2 separate regions of the Homo sapiens genome follow, and region 1 is linked to region 2. Evidence: promoter capture Hi-C in human tissues and cell types (Jung and others, 2019). All regions are on one chromosome and are shown on one strand. Each heading gives the region's core, a stretch centred on a gene start or on the middle of the fragment in contact. The rest is flanking DNA. Distances are from core to core; before and after follow the strand shown. Region 1 overlaps ASH1L (ASH1 like histone lysine methyltransferase). Region 2 holds the start of ASH1L (ASH1 like histone lysine methyltransferase).

Evidence for each region. Contacts are between HindIII fragments. The study calls those that stand out against the background at their distance.
Region 1: a fragment that was not itself captured here is called in contact with the fragment with the promoter of ASH1L in region 2 in 6 of the 25 tissues and cell types used here (H1 embryonic stem cells, IMR-90 fibroblasts, aorta and 3 more).

What each region holds. Positions count from the first base shown.
Region 1 is chr1:155,526,135-155,533,397 of GRCh38, forward strand. All of the region lies in intron 1 of ASH1L (ASH1 like histone lysine methyltransferase), which reads right to left. Among named protein-coding and RNA genes, the nearest start is that of ASH1L-AS1, 32 kb to the right of the region's middle. RefSeq lists an enhancer at 4,044-4,545. The HindIII fragment of the contact is 7,904 bases long and covers 1-5,551 here.
Region 2 is chr1:155,558,132-155,565,062 of GRCh38, forward strand. It overlaps ASH1L (ASH1 like histone lysine methyltransferase), which reads right to left and starts at 4,672. Exons shown (of 28, transcript NM_018489.3): 1 at 4,022-4,672. It overlaps ASH1L-AS1 (ASH1L antisense RNA 1), which reads left to right and starts at 3,911. Exons shown (of 2, transcript NR_147964.1): 1 at 3,911-4,155; 2 at 5,119-5,813. It also overlaps a transcript of MSTO1 not described here. RefSeq lists silencers at 2,447-2,741, 4,463-4,612, 4,663-4,802, 5,887-6,181 and an enhancer at 4,691-5,258. The HindIII fragment of the contact is 36,648 bases long and covers 1-6,931 here.

The DNA.
Region 1 (7,263 bases), core at 350-2,849, 35 kb before region 2:
ACCTCTTCTGGCTTGCTCACCACTGTAACCCCAGCAGCTGAAACAATGAATAGCACAAATTTTAGTACCCAATAAATAGCTGAATAAATGAATGAGTGAATTTTAAGGTTCCTGTAACTTCTAATACAATGATTGGCATGTAGCAAATGTCTTTTTTCCTGTTTTACATAACTTTATCTTGTGTTACAATGAGAAAACTATACACAAGTTTTTTCTTAATATGTTTATATTTCACATAGGTGGTTTTCTGTAAATTTACTAAAATATCCTAATTTCAGCACTAACATACTTCCAAATCATATTTTATACATCTTCTGTCTCTGTACCATCACAGCTAGTCTAAGAAAAACAATAACACTCAATGATCTCATTTTATATTCCTGACCACTAACTCCGAGTAAGCCCTTGGTGCTGCCAATACACTTCCCTAATCTATTCCCTCTACCACTCTCCTAAAAAACTATTTCATCCCATCTCCCCTTTCTTCATTGTCCCTAATTTTGCTTCCTATCTGATCACAGCAGTAGTCAGATAGGAAGCAGTAACAAACAGAAAAGTGCCACAAGTGCCCACCATATATCTACCTACCTTCCTACCTGTGTCTGTTCCTATAGTCTGACTGCCTTCCTATCACAATATATAAACGATCTCTCCTTTCAACCTCTTCATTTAGGCAACTATCTCCTTTCTCTCTCACATCATCCATTTCTCATATTTCCTCTGAATAATGCCAATAAGCCTGAAAACAAAAACATACTATAATATCTCTCATGGAAGAAAATTCCTCTTAGCCGAGCAAGATGGCTCACGCCTGTAATCCCAGCAGTTGGGAGGCCAAGGCGGGCAGACCTCACTTGAGGTCAGATACTCAAGACCAGCTTGGCCAACGTGGTGAAACCCCATCTCTACCAAAAATATAAGAAATTAGCCAGGTGTGGTGGCGCATGCCTGTAATCCCAGCTACTCAGGAGGCTGAGGCAGGAGAATTGCTTGAACCCGGGAGGCAGAGGTTGCAGTGAGCCAAGATGGTGCCACTGCACTCCAGCCTAGGTGACAGAGCGAGACTCCGTCTCAAAAAAAAAGAAAAAAAAAAATTCCTCTTGACTCCACATCCTCCACCATCTTCCCATTTCTCTGTTCCTCTTCACAACAAAATTGTTAGAATTCTCTATATTGTCTATTCTCCCTGACCTCCAATCCTTGCTTTTTCTCTTGAACATACTGATTATACTTTCACTGCCACCCCTCCATAGAAACTGCTAGTCAAGGTCACCAACAACCTCCACATTGCTAAGAAGAATGATCAATTCTCAGTCCTCTCATCTTACCTGACCTATCAACAGAATTTGGCACAGCTAAACAGCTCCCTCGCTACCTCACTTGACTTACGGGATACCTTTTTTTTTTTTTTTTTTTTTTTGAGTCAAGGTCTCTCTCTGTCACCCTGGCCAGAGTGCAGTGGCACAATCATAGCTCACTGCAGCCTCAAAATCCTGGGCTCAAGTGATTCTCCTGCCTCAGACCCCAAGTAGCTATTCCAAGTAGCTAGAAATACAGGCATGTGCCACCATGTCCAATTTTTTTTCACTGTTTTAGAGACAGGGTCTCACTAGGTTGCCCAGGCTAGTCTTCAAGTCCTGGCCTCAAGCAATCCTCCGACCTCAGACTCCCGAGTAGCTGGGATGACAGGCATGAGTCACCGTGCCCAGCTCTGGGACTCCTCTCTTGATTGTTCTTCCTCACTGGCTACTACCCTCTGTCTCCTTTGCAGGTTCTTTCCTTCCTCCATGACCTTTAAATACTGGAGTGACGCAGGGTACCCGGACCTCTTCCTTTTTCTATCTACACTCAGTTCCCAAATGACCAGATCCAGTCTTACGGCTTTAAATTTCATCTAACATTGATGATTCACAAATTTCTATCTTCAGATAGAGACTAGCTGAGACCTCTTTCTGGAACTTCAGATTCACATATCTAAATGCTTACTTGACATACTGACTGGATTGTGTAATAGATAGGCACTTAACATGTTTAAAATCAATTCATCTTTGCCCACTGCCCCAAATCTATTCTTCCTACAGGTTTCATTTCAAAATATGGTAATTCCAAAGAGAAATATTTAGGCCAAAAATCTCTACCCATCCTTAATTGCTTTTTCTCTCAAACCCCTCATGTCCATTTGGTCAGCTAAGTTTGTCAGCTTTACCTTCAAAATGTATGCAGAATCTAACCAGTTGTCATTACTCTGACAGCTATTAGATCCAAGTGATGATAAATATGTGAATGGATTATTGCAATAGCTTTTTTTTTTTTTAAAGAAAGAGGTTTATTTAAAGGAATTGCTCACATGATTATGGAAGCTGGCCAGTCCCAAAATCTGCAGGGTGGGTCAGTGGCAGGCTGAAGACCCAGGAAGACCCAATGTTTTCATTCTGCTGGCAGACTTGCCTCTTACTGAGGAGAGGTCAATCTTTTGTTCTGTTAATGCCTTCAGTTGAGTAGATGAAGTTCCTCCCCAACATTATGGAGGGTGATCTGCTTAACTCAAAGTCCATTGATTTATTGATTTTTTAATATATTTAACTTTTATTCTAAGTTCAGGGGTACATGTGCAGGTTTGTTACGTGGGTAAACTTGTGTCATGGGGGTTTATTTCATCACCCAGGTATTAAGCCTAGTACCCATTAGTTATTTTTCCTGATTCTCTCCCTCTTCCCACCCTCCACCCTCCAATAAGCCCCAGTGTGTGTTGTTCCCCTCTATGTGTCCATGTGTTGTCATCATTTAGCTCCCATTTATATGTGAGAACATACAGTATTTGATTTTCTGTTCCTGCACTAGTTTGCCAAAGATAATGGCCTCCACTCCATCCATGATCCTGCCAAGTACATGATCTCATTTTTTTTTTGTGGCTCCATAGCATTTCATGATGTATATGTACTACATTTTCTTTATCCAGTCTACCATTGGTGGGCATTTAGGTTAATCCCATGTCTTTGCTATTGTGAATAGTGCTGCAATGAAGATACGCATGCATCTGTCTTTATGATTTATATTCCTTTGGGTATATACCCAGTAACGGGACTGCTGAGTCAAATGTTATTTCTGTTTTTAGGTCTTTGAGGGATGACCACAGTCTTCCACAATGGCTTAACTAATTTACACTCCCACCAATAGTGTATAAGCACTCCTTTCTCTCTGCAACCTTGCCAGCATCTTTTTTTTTTTTTTTTTGACTTTTTAATAGCCATTCTGAATGATGTGAGATGGTCTCACTGTGGTTTTGATTTGCATTTCTTGAATGATCAGTGATGTTGAGCTTTTCCTCATGATTGTTGGCTGCATGTATGTCTTCTTTTGAGAAGTGTCTGTTCATGTCCTTTACCCACTTTTTAATCATTTTTTTTCTCATAGATTTGCTTAAGTTCCTTACAGATGCTGACATTAGACCTTTGTCAGATGCATAGCTTGCAAAATGCAACATGCTTCTAACTGGTTCCTTGCTTCAACCCTCATATCTCTTCCAGTCTTCTCAATTCAGTTGCAGGGTGATCCTTTCAAAGCCTGATTCAGATCATGTCACTCCTCTGCTCAAAACCCTTTCGTAGGCTTCCTATCTCCCTCAAAGCAGAAGCCAAAATTTTTTAAATGGTCTAAAGATCCAATTTAATTTGTCCTAAAGTCCTCTCTACCTCTCTTCCATCGCCTACCAGTCTCCTCACTTAGTTCCAAGAAGGAGGTACAAAAGTTTCCCTTCTGGTGGAGATTGCAGTGAGCCGAGATTGCGCCACTGCACTCCAGCCTAGGTAACAGAGCAAGACTCTGTCTCAAAAAAAAATAAAAAAAATAAAAAAAAAAGAAGTTTCCCTTCTGTTTCTCAAACACAACAAAAATACTCTTTACCTTGGGACCTTTGCACTTACCATTCCGCTTGACAGAACACCCTTTCCCCAGATAATTGCATATCTTGCTCTTTCACTTCCTTCGTATCTTTGTCTAAACGTAATTTTACAGAAGAAGCATTTCCTAAAAAAAACACCTATCCCCCCACCACCCTCTACTCACATTCAGTATCCTATTTTATTCTCATACTCTTCTTACCACCTGGTGTACTATATATTTGTTGTGTACATCTTTCCATTGAAATTTGAACTCTACCAGGAAATAGACTTATCAGTTTGGTTCACTGCTATATCCCAGCACGTAGAACACTAGCTGGCATATAGTAGGTGTTCAATAAATATTTGTAGAATTAATTCCCTGACTTATGTGGGTTATATTTTACGAGCTTCAAATTGTCCCCTTTCTAGGCCGGGCTCAGTGGCTCACGCCTGTAATCCCAGCACTTTGGGAGGCCAAGGCAGGCAGATCACTTGAGGTCAGGAGTTTGAGACCAGCCTGGCCAACATGGTGAAACCCCGTCTCTACTAAAAAAAAAAAAAAATACAAAAATTAGCTGGGCATGGTGGCACGCTCCTGTAATCTCAGCTACTCAGGAGGTTGAGGCAGGAGAACTGTTTGAACACAGGAGGTGGAGGTTGCAGTGAGCCAAGACTGTGCCACTGCACTCCAGCCTGGGTGACAGACCAAGACTCTGTCTCGGGAAGGAAAAAAAAAAATCAAAAAAATTAGCTGGGCATGGTGGCACGTGCCTATCGTCCCAGCTACCCAGGAGGCTGAGGTGGGAGGATCACCTGAGTCTAGGAGGTCGAGGCTGCAGTGAGCCATGATCACAGCACTGTACTCTAGCCCGGGCAATCAAACAATAAGCTGGGTATGGTGGGACACACTTGTAGTCCTAGCTACTCCAGAGGCACTCCAGCCTGGCCAACAGAGTGACACTCTGTCTCAATCAATCAATCAATATTAAAAAATTAGCTGGGTGTGGTGGGACACACCTGTAGGCCTAGTTACTCTGGAGGCTGAGATGAGAAGATCACTTGAGCCCAAGTGTTCAACACTGGAGTGAGCTAGAATCGTGCCACTGCACTCCAGTCTGGGCAATAAAGAGAGACCCCCATCTCAAAAAACAGATGTAACAAAAAACCCACAACATTTTACAATTTGGAAAAAAAAAAAAAGAATTGCTTTTATATTCATTACTCACAAATGCATACATTTTAAATTTTCCCATTACAATTTTTGTAATGAAAGAATTCCATGTCTTAATATGTATAACTGCAAAATTTATATGTATAAATGAAGAATTTCAGCATTTTTCCAAAGAATTCTTTTTTTTTTTGAAACAGAGTCTCCCTGTCACCCAGGCTGGAGTGCAGTGGCGTGATCTCGGCTCACTGCAACCTCCGCCTCCCGGGTTCAAGCAAAGAATTCATTTTTTATCTGCACTTAATTCCCTTTCAAAACATTACAGAGAAAGGTCTGACAGAAACATGATTCTCATTTTAAAAATGAAAAAAAATTATAAAACTTAATCCAAGTGACACATATTATTACATAAATAGCAGAGTACCAATAAACTGAAAAGAGATTTGAAAACATTTATTTCCCCCCCTAAAAATGTATATGAGAAGAGAGAAATACTACATTTCCCTAACATGATCAAGGAGAAAAACGAACAGTATGCTTACAGGCATATTTTGAGAATCCATTTAGGTAGTAAAACTGGAAAATCATGATTGGCAAACCCCACATACCAAATTTAAGAGTTTCTAGTCAAGATAAACCCAAATTCTGAAGATATTTCACAACAGAGTGCTTTTTATCTGCTGAATGTAAACTGCTTGAAAAACAGTCCCTACAGCAGCTGCCAGAATGCTGTTTTTTGAACTTTCAAAGCAATGTTCATTGAGAATATCATTCTTTCAGCTTTTGGAAAAATATCTAAACAATCTAGGTTTTCCATCCAGGGGCAAGGATGCCATGTTGTAACACAACTTATTTTGGTTTCTACTACAATATATTCAACTTAAAATACATTTCCAAGGAAAAACACAGACCTAAGATTGCTAGAATCTCTTCACTCAAACAGGCAAACTCAATATTCATCTCACATGCAATTTTGGGATTTATGTTTTCAAATCTCTGGAACAATGTGGGACAGTCTGGTCCAAATTCAAAGGAAAGTAACACTGTACCTACAGCATTAAATACTTTTGCACAAATCATTACAGCATTAAGTAAACTCTTTAGAAAATTACTAACCATATGTTTTTTAAAAAGGAAATTACTAATTATATTAATAGGACATATACATTGTATAAAAACAAAGTATGATAATCTAACAATATGTTAAAAACTACCTACAAATTTACAAATACATATTCTCTACAAAATGAAGACCTCTATCCACCCCAACACCTGCCATTCTAATCCCACATCCAAGTAACAAACAGTGGATCTGATAAAAATTAACTAATACACTGTTATTAATATAGTGGTCTGGGCTGGGCGTGGTTGCTCATGCCTATAAATCCCAGCACTTTGGGAGGCTGAGGCGAGTGGATCACCTGAGGTCAGGAGTTCAAGACCAGCCTGGCCAACATGGTGAAACTCCATCTCTACTAAAAATACAAAAATTAGCCAGGTGTGGTGGCAGGTGCCTGTCATCCCAGCTACTCAGGAGGCTGAGGCAGAAGAATCACTTGAACCCAGGAGGCACAGGTTGCAGTGAGCCGAGATTGTGCCACTGCACTCCAGCCTGGGCAACAGAGTGAGACTCTGTCTCAAAAAAAAAAAAAAAATTATATATATATATATGCACACATATATATGTGTATATATATGTATATATATATGTATGTATGTATATGTATGTATGTGTATATATGTGTGCATATATATGTGTGTGTGTGTATATATATATGGGGGGAGAGAGAGAGAGAGAGAGTGTGTGTGTGTGTTGGTGGCGAAGGTCTGGTCTGAGATACAGAACTACTCTGGAAGACAACTATGTTTGGAAATCATTTTATATGTAAATACCCCATCTATTTTCAGGGGTAGAAAGGGAATAGCCATGCTTTGATGGAACACTATTCAGCAAAACAATATAAAATCAACCAAATTTTTTAAAGTACTACAAATGAGTCCTCACAGTGAATTTAGCATCAGTAAAAGTAATAAAATACTTACTGAGTTCTTAGCATGTACAAAGCTCTATGCCAAATGTTTTACATATATTATCTCATTTAAGGCTCACAATCAGCATGCGGTAGTTACTATTATTATTCCCTTTTTAGACATGAAAAGACAGGCTAATGGCCAATAAAAGGCAGAAACAGGTCTGTTTCGCTCCTCTTAACC
Region 2 (6,931 bases), core at 3,422-5,921:
GTGGAATTGCTAATACTATAAAGACACAGTACCTAGCAAGTTATTAAGAAGTGATGTGCAGGTGCGGTGGCTCACACCTGTAATCCCAACACTTTGGGAGGCCGAGGCGGGTGGATCACCAGAGGTCAGGAGTTTGAGACCAGCCTGACCAACATGGCAAAACCCTGTCTTTACTAAAAATACATAAAAAATAGCCGGGCGTGGTGGCACACACCTGTAATCCCAGCTATTGGGGAGGCTGAGGCAGGAGAATCCCTTGAACCCAGGAGGCAGAGGTTGCAGCGAGCTGAGATCGCGCTGTTGCACTCTAGGCTGGACAACAAGAGCGAAACTCTCTCTCAAAAAAAAAAATTTAAAAAGTGATGTGCTGTATTCTATTTCACAATATAACTCAAGAGTAGAACATGAAAATCCTTTTCCTTTTTTTAAAGAGACAGTGTTTCACGCTATTGCCCAGGCTGGAGTGCAGTAGCACCACCATAGCTCACAGCAGCTTCCAACTCCTGGGTCAAGTAATTCCCCTGTCTCAGCCTCCAGAGTAGCTAGGACTGCAGGTGTTCATTCTAATTTTTTAACTTTCTGTAGAAATGGGGTCTTCCTATGTTGGCCAGGCTGGTATCAAACTCCTGGGCACAAGTGATCCTCCTGGCTCAGCCTCCCAAAGCACTGGGATCATAGGGATAACCCACTATGCCAGGCCCTAGGCCCCTTTTTCTTTTCTTTTTTTTTTTTTTTTGAGAGAGTCACTCTGTCGTCCAGGCTGGCGTACAGTGGTGGATCTCGGCTCACTGCAACCTCCACTTCAGGGATTCAAGAGATCCTCCTGCCTCAGCATCCCAACTGGCTGGGACTACCGGCACACACACCATGCCTGGCTAATTTTTGTACTTTTAGTAGAGACGGGGTTTTGCCACGTTGGCCAGGCTGGTCTCAAACTCCTGACCTCTGGTGAGCCACCCTCTTCAGCATCCCAAAGTGATTACAAGTGAGAGCCACCATGCCCAGCGACATCAAAACCTTTTTACATAAACGCACTGTAGAAATATATCCCAAAAGAAGGTAAGAAATATAAATGTTTGCCTTCTTCTCAAACCAATAGTTCCTTTATACAAAAACACCAGATGAGGCCGGGCGCGGTGGCTCACCCCTGTAATCTCAGCACTTTGGGAGGCCGAGGCGGGTGGATCATCTGTCAGGAGTTCCAGACCAGCCTGACCAACATGGAGAAACGCTGTCTCTACTAAAAATACAAAATTAGCAGGGCATGGTGGCACATGCCTGTAATCCCAGCTACTCGGGAGGCTGAGGCAGGAGAGTCACTTGAACCCAGGAGGCAGAGGTTGCAGTGAATTGAGATAGCGCCACTGCACTCCAGCCTGTTAACAAGAGTGAAACTCAGTCTCAAAAAAAAAAAAAAAAAGCACAAGATGATACAAAACATATTTTTTTAAAGTACAAAGCTGCATACAGAGTATAAACACTTTATGCTTATTCAAAGAGTAAGTAGTGGCAAAAATCTCTTTGCAATTGGGTAACAAAATTTCAACTTCTAGGAATGTTTCCCTCTTCCTTGTCCTTTTGAGAGCTGCCACCATCAAACAATTCAGACTCAACTGAATTAGCATCTCTTCAAGCACAGAGACCATATATTATTGATTTTTGTGTCTCCTGCATAGGATTAACTCAGTGTTTGTTATAACTAAGCTAAACTCCAAGACAGGAGCTTCAAATCACCTCAGGCCCAATCCAAAACTGAAAAAAGACAAACCCACTTCTCAGAGTTTAGGAACAAAAAGATACTGACAAAGAACAAAGCCATAGATACTTGTGCTATATTATATTCCCTTATCACCAAATTCAGAGTCCTTTACTAATACTGCAGAAATAAGTTTGCAGATGATAAAAAGAATAAAAAACATGGACCCTAAAGTTCTCCTGTCAACATGTTCAAATACCATAGACTCTTTCATCTTAAACTCATACTAACATCCACACACCCGAACAATGAAAATGAAAGGTTTTCAAATGAGACCTAAATATAAATTGGCTCTATTTTATTACATTTTAAGTTCCTAAAATCATATATATAAATCATGTGATTGTGCTTATGCTCATCTTCTAACTTGAGGGCCCAGTGTCTTTCATCAGATTCTCAAAAGGATAAGTGACCCCAAAAAATTTTAAGAACCACTCATCTAGCCTATCAAGAAACATCCCATTTTTCAGAAGAATACGGTTAAGTGGCTTAGTTTATGCATTCTTTCTTCATATTCATAGAGGGGATTCTTACTATATGAAATGAGTCTTTCAAAGGATTCCTTCAGCCCAGCCAAGAAGTTCCAACATCCACAGGCACATGTATTAACAATTACCAGAACCCAAAAACAGTTCTCTGGTTTTAATTCCACACCGCCTCCCTCAACTTAATACCCACCACTGTCAAAACAACTCCCCTCACGTTGTACCCAGGCTATTTACAGAGACACCTTGATTATCCTCACGCCAAGGCATGGACCATTTATTGAACAGGCAGTCAACAAATATTTGTTGAATGAATGAAAAAGGATCCTTCCTCCCACAGATTTCAAGTTAAGCTGTCAGCACCCATGCAGCTGCTCTGGTACAAGTTAAGCTGTGAAAGCCTTCTCTCCCTCACACATACAACCTCAAGTGTCAGAAATGCTCTGCTTCCTCCATAAATCCAAAATAATATAGTCATGGATATGCATTTCATACAGGTCAGACTCGGCAAGGACAGCTACGTTCCACATACATATCTGACACAATCGGTCTCCCCCAAATACAAGCCAACCAGTCTTATGTGCTCCTATCTTTCCAGCATACTCAGATTTGCCGACAAAGACTTCCTGAGGCACCATGGTATGCTGAATATACTGCTGCAGTAGTAGTGAAAATATGGGAGTTACAGTTCCAACTTTGTCACCAATTTAACATGCGGCCTTGGAGAAGTTCTCTCCTTATGCCTAAATTTCCTATTTTGTAAAATGGAAGAAAGCATCCTACCATTTTCACAGAGATTCAGTATCACAAAAAAACTGAAAGAGCTTTCTTATTGTATTGTAAACTATTACTATAAACCCGCGACAACAAATAAGGCCACCCATTCTTTACAACTTTGTAGTAATGATTCTGTTAAAGATATTTTGGCCCTTCACATTTACACAACTCACTCTAACCAAAGGCACAAACTATTCTTAAGACCACAACTGGCTATGCCAAGTTTCTCCCCTCCCTGACCTCACAGACACATGCTGTACAGAACACTACCATTGCCGCTCTTTCCCAACAAGTAACTAGGGGCTCCCAATCCCTAAAATACACACACATATCAACCTGCAAGGAACCTCCCAACATTTATTCAAGAAATAAGCTAACTTATAAGGGGAACTCCATTACACTTACACAAATAAAGGCAAACTCTTACGGAAACACTTGCCATCCTCACATACACACACCAACACAGCCGCTACACACCAACAGACCATCTGTCTGCTAGACCAAAAACATCTCTTTCCATGTACAAACTAACCAGTGACATTTATTAAACTTACAACACTGAGATCATCCTGTCGTTCCCACATACCGTTCAACGCGGCAGGGACACCACAGACCTTGTCACACAGGTAAAATCCCCTCTCAAGATCGTGTCCTCGACCACTCTTATCCCTTAATTAAACACACACAAACTGGACTATGGGGGAGGCTCCGATCATGCCTACAAACACAAACTAACCTGTCAGGGGCACAGCCGACTCCGCCTCCACTCGCTTACTTCCCAGCCCCCTCCGGGAGTCTGCCTGTCAGGGACACCCCTTCACCCCGCCTGGAGGGACTTCCCGGTAGGCTCAGGATCCCCCTCCCTGCTCTCCCCTCCCCCATCTTCACCACTGCTCTCTCAGAGATCCAGGTCCGGGAGATGACAGTGGCTCCCAGAAAGCCCAGGATTCAATCGCTGAGAGAGTGCTTAGGCCCGAATGCCGGCCCAAATCGTTCTACTCACCGTGTCGGAGGCCGAGGCCGAGGCCGAGAGCGATGAGAGTGCAGGGAAGTGGGGAAGAGGGGGTGGCCGCCAGGCTCCTCCGCTTCCCTGGGTCCACGGCGGATCCCTCCCGCTTGTCAGGAGGCGGCCAGCGGGTAAGCTGACTGGCGGAAATGCGAGAGAGGAGAAGGGAAAGGTGGAAGGCTAAAGGGGGCAAACTGAGGGGAGGCGGGTCCCGCAACCGAGACTGGGATCGTCTCCCCTCCGCAAAGCGAACCCAAAATGGCGGCGGGAGCGGCGGCGGCGGCGGCGGCAGCAGCAGAGTGGCGGCGGTGGCGGCGGCAGCTCCTCCAGAGGGAGGGAGCGAAGGGCGCCTAGCGCCCCCCTCAACCTTCCACTCCTTCCTCCTTGCGTTCTTTCCCACCGTCCCCCGCTCCGCCCGACTCCGTCCGCGTAGCGCGCACGCCCGCCCGCACGCGTACGAGTGTCTACGGGCTCGTCGCTGGCTGCTCCCACCAACCACCACCTTCGGCCGCCCCGCGCGCCAGCCAGCCCGTACGCGCTCACCCACAGGAACCCCCTCGTCCAGTCCCTCACTACCCCTCAGGCCCTGTCAAGCCGGCGCCGGCGCAGGCCCTCACGCGTACCTTCAACGGCGCAAGCCCAAGCCTCCTCCTCCTCCTCCTCCACCTCCTCTTCTCTCCTCCCCCCCCTTCCCCGCCCCCACGGCCACCAACCGCCGCCACGGCCGCCGCCGCCGCCGCCAGCCCCCCCTACCACCCTCCACCCCTCGCGCGTGCGCCTCCCACAATCCCCCCCGCGGGACTGTTCCATTCCTGTCGGCTGCAGGGGCAGGAGAGGAAGGGACGGGCCGAGCGGGTCGGGGCTTGCCGTTTGACTGGAATTGCCAGAATGGCGGACCGAGCCCCACGACAACCTACCTCCCTGGGCTCCTCGCCGCAGCGCTGCGGCTCGCCTCCCTCTGCTCCTCCTCCTCCGCCGGATCGCGGCGAGCGGATCGAGGACTGCCTAGCGCCCCTCTGCCCACCGGTGGTTGGAGGCCGCGGCGGCTGCGCGTTGAGTCGTTTCCTGCCGGTTGACCTGAGCCTACTTCGCAGTAGCAGGACCGCTGCTGTGGAGCTGGTCGCAGGCGGTGTGTGCCGGTCGCCTAGTCAGGAGAACTAGTCCTCGACTCACGGTGAGGGAATGGACCGACACGGGTATTGTACCGCTGAGGGAAAGGAGCGGGACTCCGGACCTCCAGGAGGTAGGGAGTGAGGCCAGTAGGACCGGCGCGCCTCCGGGGGGATTCCTCCCGGGCGTTGAGTTGCCAACCTGGGACCCGAGGAAGATCGGCGTGGTGGTGTGCTTTTTGTTGTTGTTAACCCTCCTCGGATTTCTCGAATTTCACACCACTGTCCATATGCGATGATGTTTGTTTGCCCTTGACGCACTTACTCATGGATGGTACTTCTTCAGCCTCGTTAGACAGCCTGGTGATGGAGGATGAAGAAACCATGTGCTTTTCATTCAGTTCTGGACTTAGTCTCCCTTTTCTTCCTTCAGCAAGTTATTTTTGTTAGTTCCTTATCAAAAAGTGTACATAAAAATTAGGCAACTCCAAACATGCCTCCAGGGTTAATGTGTGAAATAATAAGATAATATATGTAAAGTGGAATTAGCTCCTAGGCATAGGGAAAGTGCAGAATATTGCCGTGTTGTCATTTACAGTTCTGTTGATGTCGATAACGTTTGTGGGTGTAATTGGTAGTGTTCTGTCCCTCCAAGGAGTTAATAAAACAAAGCAAACATAGGCCTGTTAGGTTTCTGTGGCTACTGAATATTTGTTTCTCAAAACACTTGACTGATATTTGATAATTGAATGCAGCAGAAATACGGACGATTAAAGTCCACAAATAATTCCAAAGTTTACTTGATCTAGTAGTTTTTACCTTTACCTAAAGGGTAAAGCAGAATAAATTACCGGAAGGATCTACTTGGGTTTCCCTTTCCTTCACATTTGTGGACTCCTGGGGATCCAGGAAGTAATTCAGAAATGACTGTTCAAAAGCCCATGCAAGGCCGGGCGCGGTGGCTAACGCTTGTAATCCCAGCGCTTTGGGAGGCCAAGGTGGGCGGATGACCTGAGGTCAGGAGTTCGAGACCAGCCTGGCCAACATGGCAAAATCCCGTCTCTACTAAAAATACAAAAATTAGCCAGGCGTGGTGGTGGACGCCTGTAATCCCAGCTACTCAGGAGACTGAGGCAGGAGAATCGCTTGAACCTGGGAGGCGGAGATTGCAGTGAGCCGAGATGGTGCCATTGCACTCCAGCCTGGGCAACAAGAGCGAAACTCCATCTGAGGGAAAAAAATAAAAATAAAAAGCCCTTGCAACCTCCAAAATTCAAGTAGACAGTCCCAAATTTCCCCTTTAGGATACGTGGATTAAGTGTTGTTTACTTGTTTCGTTTCTTTAAGGTAAAGAGGAAAGCAGCCTTAATTACCTCATTGTATATTTTCCTAACCAAGTCCCACACTTTCATGGAGCCCACTTGTTTACCGATCTTTTGTTAGTTGCTTCATGCGTGCAAGTGTATTATGCTACCAATAACTTGTTTTATCTGAGAACAGGGACTATGTCTACTACTTAATTTACATAAAGCATCACAGGCTAGCGCAAAGCAAGTCACAGAAATATTGAAATGAGGCTGGGTGTGGTAGCTCACGCCTGTAATCCCAGCACTTTGGGAGGCCAAGGCGCATGGATCACGAGGTCACAAGTTCAAGACCAGCCTGGCCAACATAGTGAAACCCCGTCTCTACTAATAATACAAAAAATTAGCCGGGCGTGGTGGTGGGCGCCTGTAATCCCAGCTACTCGGGAGGCTGAGGCAGGAGAATTGCTTGAACCCGGGAGGCAGAGATTTCA